4 separate regions of the Homo sapiens genome follow, and regions 2, 3 and 4 are each linked to region 1. The links are contacts of gene promoters, found by promoter capture Hi-C in blood cells and fetal thymus (Javierre and others, 2016). All regions are on one chromosome and are shown on one strand. Each heading gives the region's core, a stretch centred on a gene start or on the middle of the fragment in contact. The rest is flanking DNA. Distances are from core to core; before and after follow the strand shown. Region 1 holds the start of H2BC13 (H2B clustered histone 13). Region 2 overlaps H4C8 (H4 clustered histone 8). Region 3 overlaps LOC105374986 (a long non-coding RNA gene). Region 4 has its middle 15 kb from the start of ABT1.

The links. Contacts are between HindIII fragments. The CHiCAGO score rates a contact against its expected background, and 5 or more counts as called.
Region 2: a fragment that was not itself captured here is called in contact with the fragment with the promoter of H2BC13 in region 1 in 1 of 17 cell types (erythroblasts); the score reaches 5.6 in erythroblasts.
Region 3: a contact is called between a fragment that was not itself captured here and the fragment with the promoter of H2BC13 in region 1, in 2 of 17 cell types (neutrophils and monocytes). The highest score is 7.2, in neutrophils.
Region 4: a fragment that was not itself captured here is called in contact with the fragment with the promoter of H2BC13 in region 1 in 3 of 17 cell types (non-activated CD4 T cells, M1 macrophages and activated CD4 T cells); the score reaches 6.4 in non-activated CD4 T cells.

The regions. Positions count from the first base shown.
Region 1 is chr6:27,806,213-27,809,786 of GRCh38, reverse strand. It overlaps H2BC13 (H2B clustered histone 13), which reads left to right and starts at 1,858. Exons shown (of 1, transcript NM_003519.4): 1 at 1,858-2,308. The coding sequence starts at 1,881. The coding sequence ends at 2,261. H2AC13 (H2A clustered histone 13) reads right to left here and starts at 1,614. Exons shown (of 1, transcript NM_003509.3): 1 at 1,120-1,614. The coding sequence starts at 1,577. The coding sequence ends at 1,185. It also overlaps the pseudogene H4C10P. RefSeq lists enhancers at 754-1,352, 1,271-1,470, 1,811-2,040, 2,291-2,390, 1,953-2,552 and 2 more. The HindIII fragment of the contact is 5,899 bases long and covers 1,292-3,574 here.
Region 2 is chr6:26,281,107-26,285,133 of GRCh38, reverse strand. It overlaps H4C8 (H4 clustered histone 8), which reads left to right. Exons shown (of 1, transcript NM_003543.4): 1 at 1-8. Among named protein-coding and RNA genes, the nearest start is that of H4C8, 2.4 kb to the left of the region's middle. RefSeq lists enhancers at 1-23, 1-315, 24-759. The HindIII fragment of the contact is 1,969 bases long and covers 303-2,271 here.
Region 3 is chr6:26,261,123-26,265,033 of GRCh38, reverse strand. It overlaps LOC105374986 (a long non-coding RNA gene), which reads right to left. Exons shown (of 3, transcript XR_926613.3): 3 at 3,106-3,662. Among named protein-coding and RNA genes, the nearest start is that of H3C8, 8.3 kb to the left of the region's middle. The HindIII fragment of the contact is 3,420 bases long and covers 306-3,725 here.
Region 4 is chr6:26,610,052-26,613,930 of GRCh38, reverse strand. No RefSeq gene overlaps it. Among named protein-coding and RNA genes, the nearest start is that of ABT1, 15 kb to the right of the region's middle. The HindIII fragment of the contact is 3,442 bases long and covers 852-3,879 here.

The sequences.
Region 1 (3,574 bases), core at 609-3,108:
AACAAAACAAGGAAAAATTAATTTTTAATATTTTGCTTAATCCAATATAGCCAACATATTTCAATGTTATCGAAATTAAAATTGTTAGGTATTTTACACTTTTTGGCACTGACTTTTCCAAATGCAATGTGTATTTTATATAAAATTCATGCTATGGAATTTCCAATGATCACTATCCACAATTGGCTAGTGGCTGCAATACTGGACAGGACAGCCTTATACACCTGTCCCCTCAATTTTCTATCTTTTGACCACTTAAATTTAAAAAACTTCTATTTTTATAACCAAGAAAAGCTGGTTCGCATGTGAGAAATTCAAGGCCAAAAAATGTCAAAGAAACAACTTTATGTGAACTTTTCACTTTTAGATTAAAGTAATTCCATTGCAGCTTATTTTTCCAATACTCTAGAAATGTAATTCATTTTCTTTTAAGAATCTATTCCATTCGTACATCCAGATCTGATTCAGATTAAAAACATCAAGTCAGATATTTTAAAAGTGGAATTTACCATGCTGAAACAAATTAAGTCATCTCTGTACTAAGAAATCAATTTGTGTGGCTGGGGGTGGGAAAGCTCGGGAAATTTTAATTTCAATGAATTTTCAGAAAATGCTTCAAAGAGAACTACCTGGCACCATAAGTAACTGTTCTAATTAGTCTAATAATTATTCTCAACTCAATCATTAATGTTCAAATGCAATTAATTATACAGATTCGAGAGATATTTCTCAGAAATGAAGAATCCAAGTCGTTGATCTAGATTTGGATTGAACGTCGAATGCCCGGTTTGTTATTTACCAAGACCCAGAAAACATCTGGCCCCAAAGCAGACATGTTTGCTTCAACAGACTAAAAGTAAAACCCGACGGTGAACCATACAGAATTCAACATACTTGGATAATGCCAGCTTAGGAAAAACTAAATTTTCTTCCACTAAGCTTAAGATGAAGGCGTGTTTAATACTTTTAATGTTATCCAGGCTTTTTATAAAGCTAACGAGATTGTCACTACCTAACCAAGACACCGAAGACTGATCTACGTAACCTTTGGAGTGGTTTAGAAGTAGGCAAAGACGAGAAATTACATTAAACATAGTGCTCAGTTCTTCCACAAAATTGTAGGTGGCTCTGAAAAGAGCCTTTGGTTCCTTTGGGATTGAGTTGCTGCAAACTAATCCAGGCTTCTACTTGCCCTTCGCCTTGTGGTGGCTCTCGGTCTTCTTGGGCAGTAGCACGGCCTGGATGTTGGGCAGGACGCCACCCTGTGCGATGGTGACTTTGCCCAGAAGCTTGTTGAGCTCCTCATCGTTGCGGATGGCCAGCTGGAGGTGACGCGGGATGATGCGAGTCTTCTTGTTGTCGCGGGCCGCGTTGCCAGCCAGCTCCAGGATCTCGGCGGTCAGGTACTCCAGCACCGCCGCCAGGTACACCGGCGCTCCAGCACCGACCCGCTCCGCATAGTTGCCTTTGCGGAGCAGGCGATGCACTCGGCCTACGGGAAACTGAAGCCCGGCCCGAGAAGAGCGGGTCTTGGCCTTGGCGCGAGCTTTGCCTCCCTGCTTGCCACGCCCAGACATGGCAAAAGGCCTATTATCTATACGGTCAAGAAAGACTGAAGTGAAACTAGAAAAACGTACATTTTATAGCCTCTACTGGGCGCGAAAAGGAAGCTGTGCGATTGGCTTACGTTTTATTTTTATTTAGACCAATAGGACTCGATTATGCAGGATACCTATTTTGATTGGGCAAAACTGGCATCTGTCGTCATCCACGGATAATTACCAATCAGCAGAGACCTTCCCACTACCTCGGCCGCATAAACTATTATATAAAAAGAGGAGACCGACTTCTTGTTTTGGTTTTGCCACTATTGTTTCATTATGCCCGAGCTGGCCAAGTCTGCTCCCGCCCCGAAGAAGGGCTCCAAGAAGGCGGTGACCAAGGCCCAGAAGAAGGATGGCAAGAAGCGCAAGCGCAGCCGCAAGGAGAGCTACTCCGTGTACGTGTACAAGGTGCTGAAGCAGGTCCACCCCGACACCGGCATCTCTTCTAAGGCCATGGGAATCATGAACTCCTTCGTCAACGACATCTTCGAGCGCATCGCAAGCGAGGCTTCCCGCCTGGCGCACTACAACAAGCGCTCGACCATCACCTCCAGGGAGATCCAGACCGCCGTGCGCCTGCTGCTTCCGGGGGAGCTGGCCAAGCACGCGGTGTCGGAGGGCACCAAGGCCGTCACCAAGTACACCAGCTCCAAGTAAATTCTCAAGCTCTTGTCCAACCCAAAGGCTCTTTTCAGAGCCACTCACTATTATCTAAAGAAGAGCTGGTTCGCTCTTCCTATCACTGGGGGGCGAGGGGTCATAAATCATTTTGATCTATCCACTAAATTAATCTAGCTCTTTGAAAGCCATTTAAGGTGAAATGTACATGAGGTACGTGCATATAGCTACCAACACCATAGAGGGTCCGACCTTTGCGCTTGAGGGCATAAACTAAGTCCTTAGCAGGGACTGCTTTGCGCTTTGCTCGTTCCGTGTAAGTCAGTCAAGCGCATCCGGGATCACGTTATCCGGAAATTCCTTGAGCATCCACGGGTTTCTAAAAAGATGAGACCAGAATGCGTTTGACACCGCCAGGCCAGGCTCCAGGTGGTGGGTCTGGTGATGTCTGGATGTTGCACAGCAACTTGCGGTGGCGCCCCCTTTACCCAATCCTTTCCCTCACTTGCGCAACCAGACATGATTTTAAGGCACGACAAAAGACCCGAGGTAAAAACCAAAAACAGCACTAGGAAAACAAGGCTGGCGTTTTTAATCTTTCCGACTAAACTGGAAACTAGAGGGGTGGGCGCGGTGGCTCATGCCTGTAATCCCAGCACTTTGGGAGGTGGAGGCGGGCGGATCCCTTGAGCCCAGGAGTTCGCAACCAGCCTGGGCAACATAGCAAAACCCCGTCTCTGCAAAAAGCACAAAAATTAGCCAGGAGTGGTGGCGCGCCCCTGTTGTCCCAGCTACTTAGGGGGCTGATGTAGGAGGATGGCTTGAGCCTGGTAGGCGGAGTTTACAGTGAGCTGAGATCGCACCACTGCACTCCAGCCTGGGTGATAAAGCCAGGCCTTGTCTCAAAAAAAAAAGTGGGAGATCAGTAAAAGTTAACACCTTGCCTTCTCCTAATTGTCAATGCCTGCTAGCAAAAGATGCCAGAGTAGATTTTTAAAAGTTTTTCTTGTTTTCACCCAAACCCAACTGTTTTTCGTATACTATTTACCATCCAATTTACTAACATTTATTAAGCATCTACTATTCACCATAGGCCAGTCATAGTATTCTGCTATAGGAATGGAAAATCCTGAATAAGCCTCCCAGACCTTAATTCTCAATCATTGCTGGTGGCCCCACAAATTGGTAGTGCTTTCATAAAGGAAAATTTGGTAATACCTGTCAAAATTTTAAAATGCACCTATCTTTACATCAGAAATTTCACCCCTAGGAATTTACTATTTTTGAAAATATGCAAAATAATATATGCAGGGGTTTCCAGCAGCACTGTTTGTAGTATAAGACTGAAGCAA
Region 2 (4,027 bases), core at 38-2,537, 1.5 Mb after region 1:
GCCGCCCACTTTTTTCATAAAAGAGCAGACATCTTGTTATCCTGCTTTGTTCCAGATTTTTGCTGAGAAGTAGTTACTGTGCACATGTGTAGATTTGCAGGTAACGTTTAATTACTCGTGCTTAATCTCGCATGTTTAGGATTTGGGCATAAAGTACTTAAAGCCACTGTTTTCTGCTTGAGGGAAGTTGGTATGTTGAATATGTTTAGCTTTCTTGTGGCATTTTAACACTAGATATCAGTGAGTAAGCTGGATTGTGACAGTTTATAATTCCCGTGGGCCTTCCTCCTTCAGTTTAAGCTTGAAGCGTTCGTAAGGTTCTCAAAGACTACAGAAGTTGGAAACTTCGCGGAGAGACTGCAAGTTACCCTTTCCAAAATGGCGGGAAGGGCTAAAAACAAAGAAAGCTCGCACCCAGACGGCGGGCCTTAAACCAAGGCGAATCCGTGAGCGCAACACATCTGCGTGAGTAGGATCGCAGACCCAAGTCCAGGCGGCGTGCGCGCTGCTGCTTTTGACTTGGTGACAAAACTCGTCTACAAAAGGCAGTGTGGGGTAACAATATAAATGTTCACTTGAGAGCTTGCAAGTATTGTTTCCAATAGACTTAAAATGTGTTTTTGAATATTACGAAAATATTAAAAGGTAGGGTACCGCTTAGTGAGCAATATAGAAACATCACCATAACTTATTTTGTTGTTGTTGAGACGGAGTTTTGCTCTTTCATCCAGGCTGGAGTGCAGTGGCGCGATTTCGGCTCACCGCAACCTCCGCCTTACAGTTTCAAGCGATTCTCCTGCCTCAGCCTCCTGAATAGCTGGTATTACAGCCGCCCGCCTAATTTTTGTGTTTTTAGTAGAGATGGGGTTTCACCATGTTGGCCAGGCTGGTCTCGAACTCCTGATCTCGTGATCCACCCGCCTCGACCTCCCAAAAGTGTTGGGATTACAGGCATGAGGCACTGCGCCCGGCCACGAAAACTTAAATTCTTAACCAGCAATGATCGCCTTTTGAAAAAGTACACATTCAGGCATCAGGACAATGATTTGCTAGAGACCAAACTTGTAGGAGATTTGGATTGGCTTTTTTTTTCCTTTTTTGAGGCGGAGTCTCACCTTCGCCATGCTGGAGTGAAGTGGCGTGATCTCGGCTCACTGGAACTTCTGCCTCCCGAGTTCAAGCGATTCTACTGCCTTAGCCTCCCAAGTGACTACAGGCTCGCGCCACCACGCCCAGCTAATTTTGGTATTTTTAAGTATAGGTGGGGTTTCACCATGTTGGCCAGAATGGTCTCCATCTCTTGAGCTCGTGATCCGCCCGCCTCGGCTTCCCAAAGTGTTGGGATTACAGGCGTGAGCCACCGCGCCCGGCCTGGATTGGCTTTTCTTACGGCATCATTTTACTTGGCTTCTATACTCTGTCCTGAGCAGAAGTGACTTTTATATACTTAGTTGAAATCAGGTTAATATGCTTGTCAGTTTATACAGAGACATATGTCTGGTTTATCTACGTTGAAGATAATAGGACAATTGCTGCTTTAGGATGATAGTTCCATTGTAAAATCAGATTTTTCCTCTTTGTGGTCAGCAAGCAAATTGTAGGGTTATAACTTTGAAATCGAGAAAATCAATGGAGTTAGGGTTTCATCTTTTTTAAAGATATGCACTTGTACATTAATATGAAAAGAACGATGTTATCAGAGCTAAGGCACTGGTTTGTATGAGGATATAAATTTAACAACAAAAATTGAGCACATAACGTATGCCAGGTACTGTTCATGGCTCTGAGAAGTATAGGAGTGAATGACAGTGAACAAAACAGTATTTTCTGTATGCATGGCGTCTGTTGGGTGTGCTTTCACACGCAAAGTAAGTGAAACTATCAGATGGTGCTAAGTGCTATCACTGAAACAGGCTAAAGACGTGTGGAGGGAGGAGGTGATGTTTAATTAGTTATTTTTTTTGAGATAGGGTCTTGCTCTGTTGCCCAGGCTGCAGTGCAGTGGCGCGATCTCGGCACATTCCACCTCCGCCTCGCTTGGGTTCAAGCAATTCTAGTGTCTCAGCCTCCCGAGTAGCTGGGATTACAAGCATGCGCTACCACACGCAGCTAATTTTTGTATTTTTAGTACTTATGGGGTTAGGCTGGTCCTGAATTCCTGCCTCATGTGATCCGCCCACCTCGGCCTCCCAAAGTGCTGGGATTACAGGTGTGAGCCACCGCGCCCAGTCGAGAACGTGATAATTTTAAATGATAGAGTCATGGAAAGCTTTACTGATAGAGCGATGGTTGCAGAAAAAAAGACGAGAGAATATTCCAAATAGACGACCAAGTAGCAAAGCCTGGAGATAGCAGAGAGTTATTGTGTCTGGGCAAAAGGGCAGAAGAGGTGCAGAGGAATGGAGATGAGGTCTGAAAGGCAAATGGAGGCGAGAAGGGTGCAGAGGAAAGGAGATGAGGTCTGAAAGGCAAATGGAGGCGAGCAGTTCCTATATGGGCGGTGTAACTACTTTGGCTTTTATTCCTAGTGAGGTGGGAGCCACTCAGGGTTTTGAGCAGAGGACTGAGTTGATCTGATTTATATTTTAGAATGAGCTGTCTGGATGCCTGATGAAGAATAAACTGTGATGGAACCTGGATAGGAGCAGAGACCAGTTAGGAGGGTACTAAAATAAAGGAGTTTAGATGGCAGTGGCTTGGACCAGTGTATTAGTGGTAGAGGCTGTGAAAAGTTGTTGGATTCTTTGTTTATTTTGAAAGAAGGTTGATAGTTCGTTTCTGAGTCACTGAATGTGTAGAGTATGAGAGAAAGAAAATTTATGGATGATTCCAGTGATTTCATTGACAGCAACTGAAATGGAGGTATCAATTGCTAAAATGGGGAAGAATACTGAAGGAACAAGTTTTGGAAAGAATTCCATATCTTAGTTTTGGACATCCAGAGAGAGTGTCAGATGCTTATTACACATATCTAAGAGGAAGATACAAAGTAAACAGTTTGATATATAAATCTGGATTTCAGAAAAGAGGTCTGGGCTGAAAACATAGATTGAGTTTTTACTCCCATGAGGGTAAAAAAGCCAGAAGGTGAAATGATATCTGTTAGGAAAAGAGGATTGATAATGAAGAAGAAGCAGTGCAAGGACTGGGCCCTGGGTTAAGGAAGTAAGGAATGTTTGCTTTGTACATACGACATCTGGATTCCTAACTTACAGTTTTACAAGTGCTTTATTTAGTAATTCTGTTTCTGTAATTTTTGGAACAAACAGAAAAAGTTATCCCTATTTTACAAATGTGGAAAAATGCCCTTGGTAATAAGGGTATGCAATAATATTGCAATTTTCATTCAAATAACCTATTAAAGTTAGAGCCATGAAGGGGTTACTTTGGAGACCCAGTGATAGATATTCACACCTTTTTCAAAATGTGCCCACTTTCCCCATATATTTTGCTTGCAATTCCAGGAGTTCTCAGGCCTCCTGAAACGTATTTGTGGATCTCAGCTTGAAAGCTCTGTATTTGATGCTGCCTTTTTTCTTCCCTTAGTTCTGTGGCTCCTGATGGATCTGAGAAGATGGACGTGGAGGATGAAAATCTGTCTGATTATTTTGAACTGATGTTTGTTGCTATGGAGATGCTGCCTATATGTTGATGTTGCAGACGTTAAGTCACTAGCCCACAGCCTTGTATTCCATACTCAGAGACCCTGCTACTTACTTGACATCTCAACTTGAAAGTCCAATTAATATGCACTTCAAACTTTAATAGGCTTCAAACAGAATTTCTTTCATTATCTCTGCAAAACAGCTTCTCTCATCATCTTGAAATTAGTGAATGGCATTTTACTGTTTTAGTTGGAGTCATTTCTGTGGTTTTCTTTCACATCCTACATAACAATCCATCAGTAAGTTCTATGAGCTCTTCTTTGAAAACAAACAGAATCCAACTGTTTCATTCCCACTTCTGCTCTGGTCAAGCCACTGCCAACACTCACCTTTATTATTGTAGCACCCTCATTGCCTAGTTC
Region 3 (3,911 bases), core at 766-3,265, 1.5 Mb after region 1:
CCAGGAGGCGGAGGTTGCAGTGAGCCGAGATTGTGCCATTGCACTCCAGCCTGTGCAACAGCGCGAGACTCCCTCTCAAAAAAAAAAAAAAAATCTGAGTCTGACACCTTTAAAGGTCTGAAAGAAACATTTACTATATATGTATTCTTCTTGAGGGCTGTTACCTATGAGTTTTCATCTACATAACAAGACCACCTTTGTTAGCAAAGCCCTCCCATAACCTGTCTTGCATGATTGACCACCCTAACCTGTTTTTGGCCATGCTCTGAGTCCCCATTCTTTAACCTAAAGATGGCATTTAAGCTTCTGTACCCCCTGCTGGGGTTGGGGTAATTACTCTGTGGTTCTCCCTCCTGCATGTTAATAAACTTGTGTGCCTTTCTCTCCTATTAATCTGTTTTTTGGTAATTGATTTTTGAGAAAAACTTCAGAGGGTGAAGGCGAAGATTTTTCTTGGTCCTGACAAGACTGAGCAGAGAAGAGAGTGAGTTCTTTATACAGCTGTAGGAAGATCATACCAGAGAGAAGAAACATTGATTCATGGATCCTGAGTTGGGTGCATATTTGGGCTATGGACATTGTTCTGATAGCCAACTACATAAAACCAGGGCCTTTGTTTTTCTTAAGCTGGAATTTCCAGGTAACTCAGTACTGATTTATACTTTTTTTTTTTGAGACGGAGTTTCGTTCTTGTTGCCCAGGCTGGAGTGCAATGGCACGATCTCGGCTCTCTGCAACCTCCGCCTCCCGGGTTCAAGTGATTCTCCTGCCTCAGCCTCCTGAGTAGCTGGGATTACAGGCATGTGCCACAATGTCCAGCTAATTTTTGTATCTTTAGTAGAGATGGGGTTTTGCCATGTTAGTCAGGCTTGTTTCCAACTCCTGACCTCAGGTGATCCACCCACCTTGGCCTCCCAAAGTGCTGGGATTACAGGAGTGAGCCACCGCGCCCTGCCTTCTTTTTTTTTTTTTTTTTTTTTTGAGACAGAGTCTCACTCTGTTGCCCAGGCTGGAGTGCAGTGGCAGGATCTCGGCTCACTGTAACCTCCGCCTCCCAGGTTCAAGCACTTCTCCCTGCCTCAGCCTCCCAAGTAGCTGGGAATACAGGTGCCTGCACGCCTGGCTAAGTTTTGTATTTTTTTTTTTAGTAGAGATGTGGTTTCGCCATGTTGGCCAGGTTGGTCTTGAACTCCTGACCTCAGGTGATCTCCCCACCTTGGCCTCCCAACGTGCTGGGATTACAGGCATGAGCCACTGAACCCGGCCTGATTCATACATTTTAATTTTTCAAACGTGTTGCTCCAGATACCCAAGGACATTCAGTTAAGACAGTGAATCAAGAGGCAGGGGCAGGAAAAGATAAGCAATGAGTGCTAACCCCATGGAAGACTGCTCGCCTTATTCAAGGATACCAGTAGTTAAGGAAAGAGTATTATTATATGATAATTTATTTAAAATAAAAAATAAGAGATCTGCAAAATTGCTATCATTTTACTTTTCACATGAAAGAAACCAATGTAATCTTTACAAGGCTTTATATGCTGTAACATTTTCTGAGATTTCATTATACTAGATATCTACGGATGAGCTCCAAAGTACAAAGAAAACTGCTCCTACTAGCAACAGAACTCCACATTAAAATTTCTATAATGGTTATAATGTGATGGCCGAATCCATAATAAAACAAAATTAAATTATGATGAAGATGATACATGTTCCCAGCTACTGATTTTGAGCCCTAGATAAACCTTGACAAAAAATTGAGAGATCACATTTCTTCTTAATCCTTCATATTGAGTGAGACTATTGTCCGATATGAGATCCAGGGATTTTATTTATGATTATAACTGTCAAAAATGGACTATCAATTACTTTCACTTTTTTGGTTAAGTGCAGTTAGAGGAAAAAAGACATATCTGGTGTCTTACAAAATTTACCCAGATTATTCTACGAGACTTTTGGGGAGCAATGTCAATATTATAGAGTCTCTGTTTTCTCCTTGAGCTTTTCTTTTCTTATTTTTCTTTTCTCTTTTCTTTTCCTTTTCTTTTTCTTTTTTTTTTCTTTGAGACAGTCTTGCTCTGTTATCCAGGCTGGACTGCAGTGGCATGATCCTAGCTCACTGAAGTCTCAAACTCCTTGCCTCAAGCAATCTTCCCACCTCTCTCTCCCAAAGTGTTGGATTACAGGCATGAGCCATCACCCCCGGCCGCCTTACTGATTTTATTTAATTTTTTTTTCTTTAAATATAGAGATGAGGTCTCGTTATATTACCCAGGCTGGTCTTGAACTCCTGGGCTCAAGTGATCCTCCTGCCTCAGCATCCCAAAGTGCTGCAATTATAGATGTGAGTCACCGCATCCAACCCTCCTTATGCTTTTCTAATGGAGGACCCAAGAGGCAACATATCCAATGAAACTACCTCATCCTTATGGTCACATCCACATTTGAAAGATCACTAGGCTGTGGACAGAAGTTCTACTGCTGATAGATGTGAATATAGCTTCCTCTCCTCTGGTTAACTCTTAAGAAGTCCACATTTTGCTTTGTTTCTCTCCATGAAATCTTATGTTTCTTTTACAGATGAAGTGTTTTGACCTGAAGATTCATCCAGCAACAAGTGAATGCATTTCCTTTTAGAAATTAAGAATCTAGACCCTTCTTTGGTGCAGAGCATACTAGTTAAGATAAATACAAGTTTATTTTCTGCGGATATGAGGTTCAAAAAGGGTATTCTAGATCAGCAGGTCCCTCTTTCTTCTAGCAGTGGTTCTGGAACCTAGATGCCCTCTGTCTTTGTGGCTTAGCCATCCTAAATGTGGCTTCTACATTTGCCCTGCAAGGGGAAAGAACATGGAAAAATCCTTCGTGGAAAGTTATTATGTCCCAGGCCTGGAAATGTCAATCTTTACTTGTGTTTATGTTCCATTGGCAGGAACTTAGCTAAAAGGCCACACCTAACTGGAAGAGAAGTTGAAAATAGAGGTTTCAACGTGGGCCCCAAAGAAGAAAAAGGTTAAATTAATGACCAGAATTAATAAAAGGCATATGAAATTATTAACGTGTACACTGCAGAGGGGGGTGGATAGAGTGATCACCCAATACTGCAATTGGACATAGATGTTTATTCTACTTCCTAGGGAAATGGGAGCTTGAGAAGTGTTTTTAGGGATATAATAAATGATTTGTAGGGGAATTCAATGGGCTTGAAGAACATGCAAGGGCCTGGGACAATGTCTGTTAGGGCTGCAGAGTAGACAGTGGTTTGTGACAAAATCTATCTAGGTTTGTTGACAGGCTTGTGTTTCTCCCTGTGATATTAGTTCATTTAATGAAAACTCAGAGTAGAGACTAAAGATAATTGTATTCTTTGGCAGGTTTGGACTTTAGGCAGATAAGGAACTTCTGAAAACAACTTCATCCTGTGCTTTGGGAGACGGAAAGGATTGAGAGACAGGAGGGGTGGGGAGAAGGTCAGAGAGACCTTGTAGCTTCTTCAGTTCAGCATGTCAAAGTGCAATATTTTGGGATATCAGTTTCTGAGCCCCAGCAGTGTCATATATCTTTGATTTTAGATATCCTCTCTTGCTCTAAATCCATTTCCAGAAAATCTGCTTATCTTCTGAAGTTGCTGTGCAGAAGCCCCCATTTTGTTCTTGATACTGGTAGAAAGAAAAGTGAAATAGAAGTCAGAATTCTTTGTTAGACCCAACTCTAACTAAGCTTGAGCAATCGCCTCATCATTACGAAAATCCATTGTTTCTATTTTGTAAATGAGGAAACAAGCTGAATGTTTCTGCATAATGCCTAAAGTCATCCAGTTAATAAAAATGATGTAACAAATTTCAACCCGGGTAGTGGGTCTCAAAACTCTCCTAATGTTAAGCATATTCCACTGCTGTGCTATAGTT
Region 4 (3,879 bases), core at 1,323-3,822, 1.2 Mb after region 1:
GGTCCCGCGGCGCTGCGCAGGTGAATGAGAAGGTTCTTGGGCTGGGAACCCGGCTACCGGGAAGCCCGCTGTTTGTTAAGGAACCTTCCCCGGCAACTTGCCTTTAGGGTCCGGACAGCGCGGAGGGAGAGTTCCCGTGTGCCCGGGAACCCAAATCTGAGACTTCCAGCAGTTAAGCAGGAGCGGGAGATGAGGCAGCCGGGTAGGCCTATCAGTCCTGATGCCCGGGCTCCTCTTTCGCAGGGTTTGTTTTCCTTTGGTGTCTCCCAAGCCCTCGCTAAGGCAAGTGATAAATGAGATGGCTGGACGAGAAACTGGTGGGGACGGGGGTGGCAGAGCTGGGGCTGGGGACGCTCTTTGGGGTTGTCGCTATACCTCAGTGGTCCCTAGTGCCCATGTGCTGGGCGCTGGCTGTCTAGAAGGGCTCCAGGGCCGCGGAAGACCCGTGCACATCATTCATCCCTGACGGTCACCTGTCACCAGAACACTGTGCACTTCGCGCGGGGTCTCATCGGCAGCCAATGAAAACTCCCTGGAGGCAGTATCCAGCTCGAAAACCCAGGTCCAGCCACATCACTCACCAAAGGTAGTTCTACATGGAGAAGCCTGATCCCTCACCGCCGCCTTCCTAGGGGGACCAGGAGCTTTCGGAGAAGCCCGCCAGCCGCTGGCTCTCTACGACCCTGCAGTGTTCAATACATTGATGTGTTTCGCCCCACTCCCTTCCACAGATTAGCCAGGAGGTCACCCTGCAGGAGCCTGGTGACCATCAAGATTGCTTCCCCTGACCTCATCCAAGTGAGCCAGTTTCCAGTACCAAAGCCGACTTTGAGCTAAGCACCCTTAAAGCTTCCAGACCCTTATGGCACAAAAAATCAAACCGAGGCCCTCAGAGAATGCAAAAAAATGAAAGTGGAAGACCCAATATTCCCTGAGCCAGGACAGGAAAACAAGTCTCCAGGAGACCAGATATTCACATTCAACTGTGATAGCCAATGGGATCCCTGTTTATTTGGTGCCCGAGTCCCTTGAAGCCAAACCTCCATTCCCAGAGCTCAGATGACCACTAGAATAAGTCTCATCATCCCTCCAAGAGCCCCTTGACCAGCATATTCCCAAGTGGTCCCCTCAGCTCCAACAGAAATGACATTGGCAGCTCCTACAGCTCTCCTGGAAACATTTCAAAGACAGGGAAGAGAGGAGGTCCCAGTTTGCAATTTCACATCCCTCCTGATGTCTAAAGTACTCATTATCCTCTTCCCCTAAAAAAGGCACAGAAGAGCTTGAACCCAGGAGGCTAAGGTTGCAGTGAGCTTAGATCATGCCACTGAACTCCAGCCTGGCGTCAGAGCAAGACTCCCTCTCAAAAACAAACAAAAAGGCACAGAAAAACATCTGTCCACACTTTGCTGTATAGGGATTAAACAATGAGGTTCAGGCTGCAGACACTCCCTCACAGAAGAAAACAAAGCAAAACTCAAGGAATACATCGCCCACATCTGTTAGTTCTGGGCCTCATGAAAGCAAAACTTTGCTACAGCCTTCTAAGCCATAGGGGGAGGGTATCCTGTCTTCAACTCCCCAACTTGGTTATGCAGTCACTGCAGAAAACTTGGACAAGAAAGCTGCACTCTGGTAGGTCAACGAAGTCATAAAGGAGCAGACTGAGGCCACCAATGACTATCCTGAGATTGTGCCTGCCACTCAGCCCATCCTTTCTGTCACCCTACCTGCTGCTGGGACTGCACCATTTCCAACTACCCCTCCATTTGGGAGCACTAATCCAAGCTGGAGAGCTTGAAAGTGATGCAGAATACCCCAGGCCCACTGGCCTTCCTATAGTCCACTGGAGGGATAACCTGTGTGGCTGCTTTGCCTCAGGAGACATCCAGCTTGCTGACCCCTTTGGTGTCCTCGAAGTCAGAGACACTTCCAGGCACCTCTTCAGACTTGAGGCCAACAGTCACTTACTCCTGGTTGACTCCTGCTTCTACCACATTACTCATCACTGACCCCACCAAGCCACCTCTGACCCCTCAGGCTGACAGGTCTGCCAAGTCCCCAACCATCCCTGCTCTAAACCAATTCCTGTAAGCATCCCAACCCTTAATTCTCCTACATATACAGATCCTTCTGGATCTTCTGATCCATCTATATTTAGGCTAGTATAGAAGCCCAATCTAAAAGAAAGAAAGAAGGCCACTTGGGTCCCACACAGTCACCTGACAATGAGGCCACTGGCTCAGCGTTTGATAGCACAGCCCCATGAGCCTTCCTTTTGGAGAAATGCCAATCCTAAGGCACTGGTGCTTTAGGATAGGTCTGTCTAGCTCAGTCAGGAGTTCCATTTCTGGAGCATTCATCAGTGAAGCAGGCCCTAGTAGGACCACTGGTGCCATCAGTCTTTTGGGGTATACTTGGTCCTGAACACCCAGGATCCTTTATTCAGGGCACATGATTTTCCTTCAAAGGAGACAGCACCACAGAGTAAGCCTGGGTTTCGAAACCTCTTCACTGCTGCCTCAGTCAGAGTGTCCTGCTTAGAGTGGGCCTGTTAAGCAGCAGAAGTGCCCCTAGGGAACCAATGCCCCCTGACTAGGGTTCAGTGGGAGAAGGACCTGTCAGAGCACCAGCACCTTCATTTTCCATCAGTTTGGGATATAAGACAAGAGCTCAGCCACAGCTGCAAGCCCAGAAGCAACAACCTTTGGGAAATTTCCACAACTTTTCTGCCCATGCTATTGACACTTCTCTTTTTATTTTATTTATTTTTTATTTTTATTTACTTTTTGTTTTTTGAGACAGCATCCCTCTGCCACCTAGGCTGGAGTGCAGTGCTGCGATCTCAGCTCACTGCAGCCTCTGCCTCCCAGGTTCAAGTGATTCTCCTGCCCCAACCTCCCAAGTAGCTGGGATTACAAGCGCCCTCCACCACACCCAGCTAATTTTTGTATTTTCAGTAGAGAAGGAATTTCACCATGTTTGCCAGGCTGGTCTCAAACTCCTGACCTCAAGTGATCCACCCAGCTCAGCTTCCCAAAGTGCTGGGATTACAGGCTTGAGCCACCGCGCCCGGCCGGCATTTCTCTTTTCAATATGTAAGCTCAGATAGGAGTCTTACCTTCCTGCTTTTCCCTGGGAATATGCTTGCCTGAAGAAAAGGGAAGATAGTCTTTCCTCACTTGCATCTTGGGGGTGGGAAATTGCATTTGCCTTTAATCTTTCCCTTCCTTGGTCTGGCTTTAAAGTGTGGTTTTCTTCCTCTGGCTTTTTTTGATGGAGTTTCGCCAGATTGGCCAGGCTGGTCTCAAACTCCTGGTCTCAAGTGATCCGCCCACCTTGGCCTCCCAAAGTGCAGGGATTACAAGTGTGAGCCACCAGGCCCGGCCCCCTCTGGCTTCGTAGGGAGCCTGTTTGTCCACATTTCACTAGTTGTTCATACACAGTCCTTGGAGGAGCTCTAAGAAAATCTTGAATCTAGCTTATCCTTGGGAAACATTGATCATCCCCTGAGAGACACTGTGGATGCTACTCCTGCTGAATGACTGCCTCCCACCAAGTCTGCACTGTCCCTTAGAAAGATAATACTCAGACTGGGCACGGTGGCTCACGCCTGTAATCCCAGCACTTTGGGAGGCTGAGGCAGGTGGATCACCTGAGGTCGGGAGTTTGAGACCAGCCTGACCAACAAGGAGAAACCCTGTCTCCACTAAAAATGCAAAACTAGCTGGGCGTGGTGGCACATGCCTGTAATCCCAGCCACCCAGGAGACTGAGGCAGGAAAATCACTTGAACCTGGGATGCAGAGGTTGCGGTGAGCCAAGATCATGCCATTGCACTCCAGCCTGGGCAACAAGAGTGAAACTCCGTCGAAAAAAA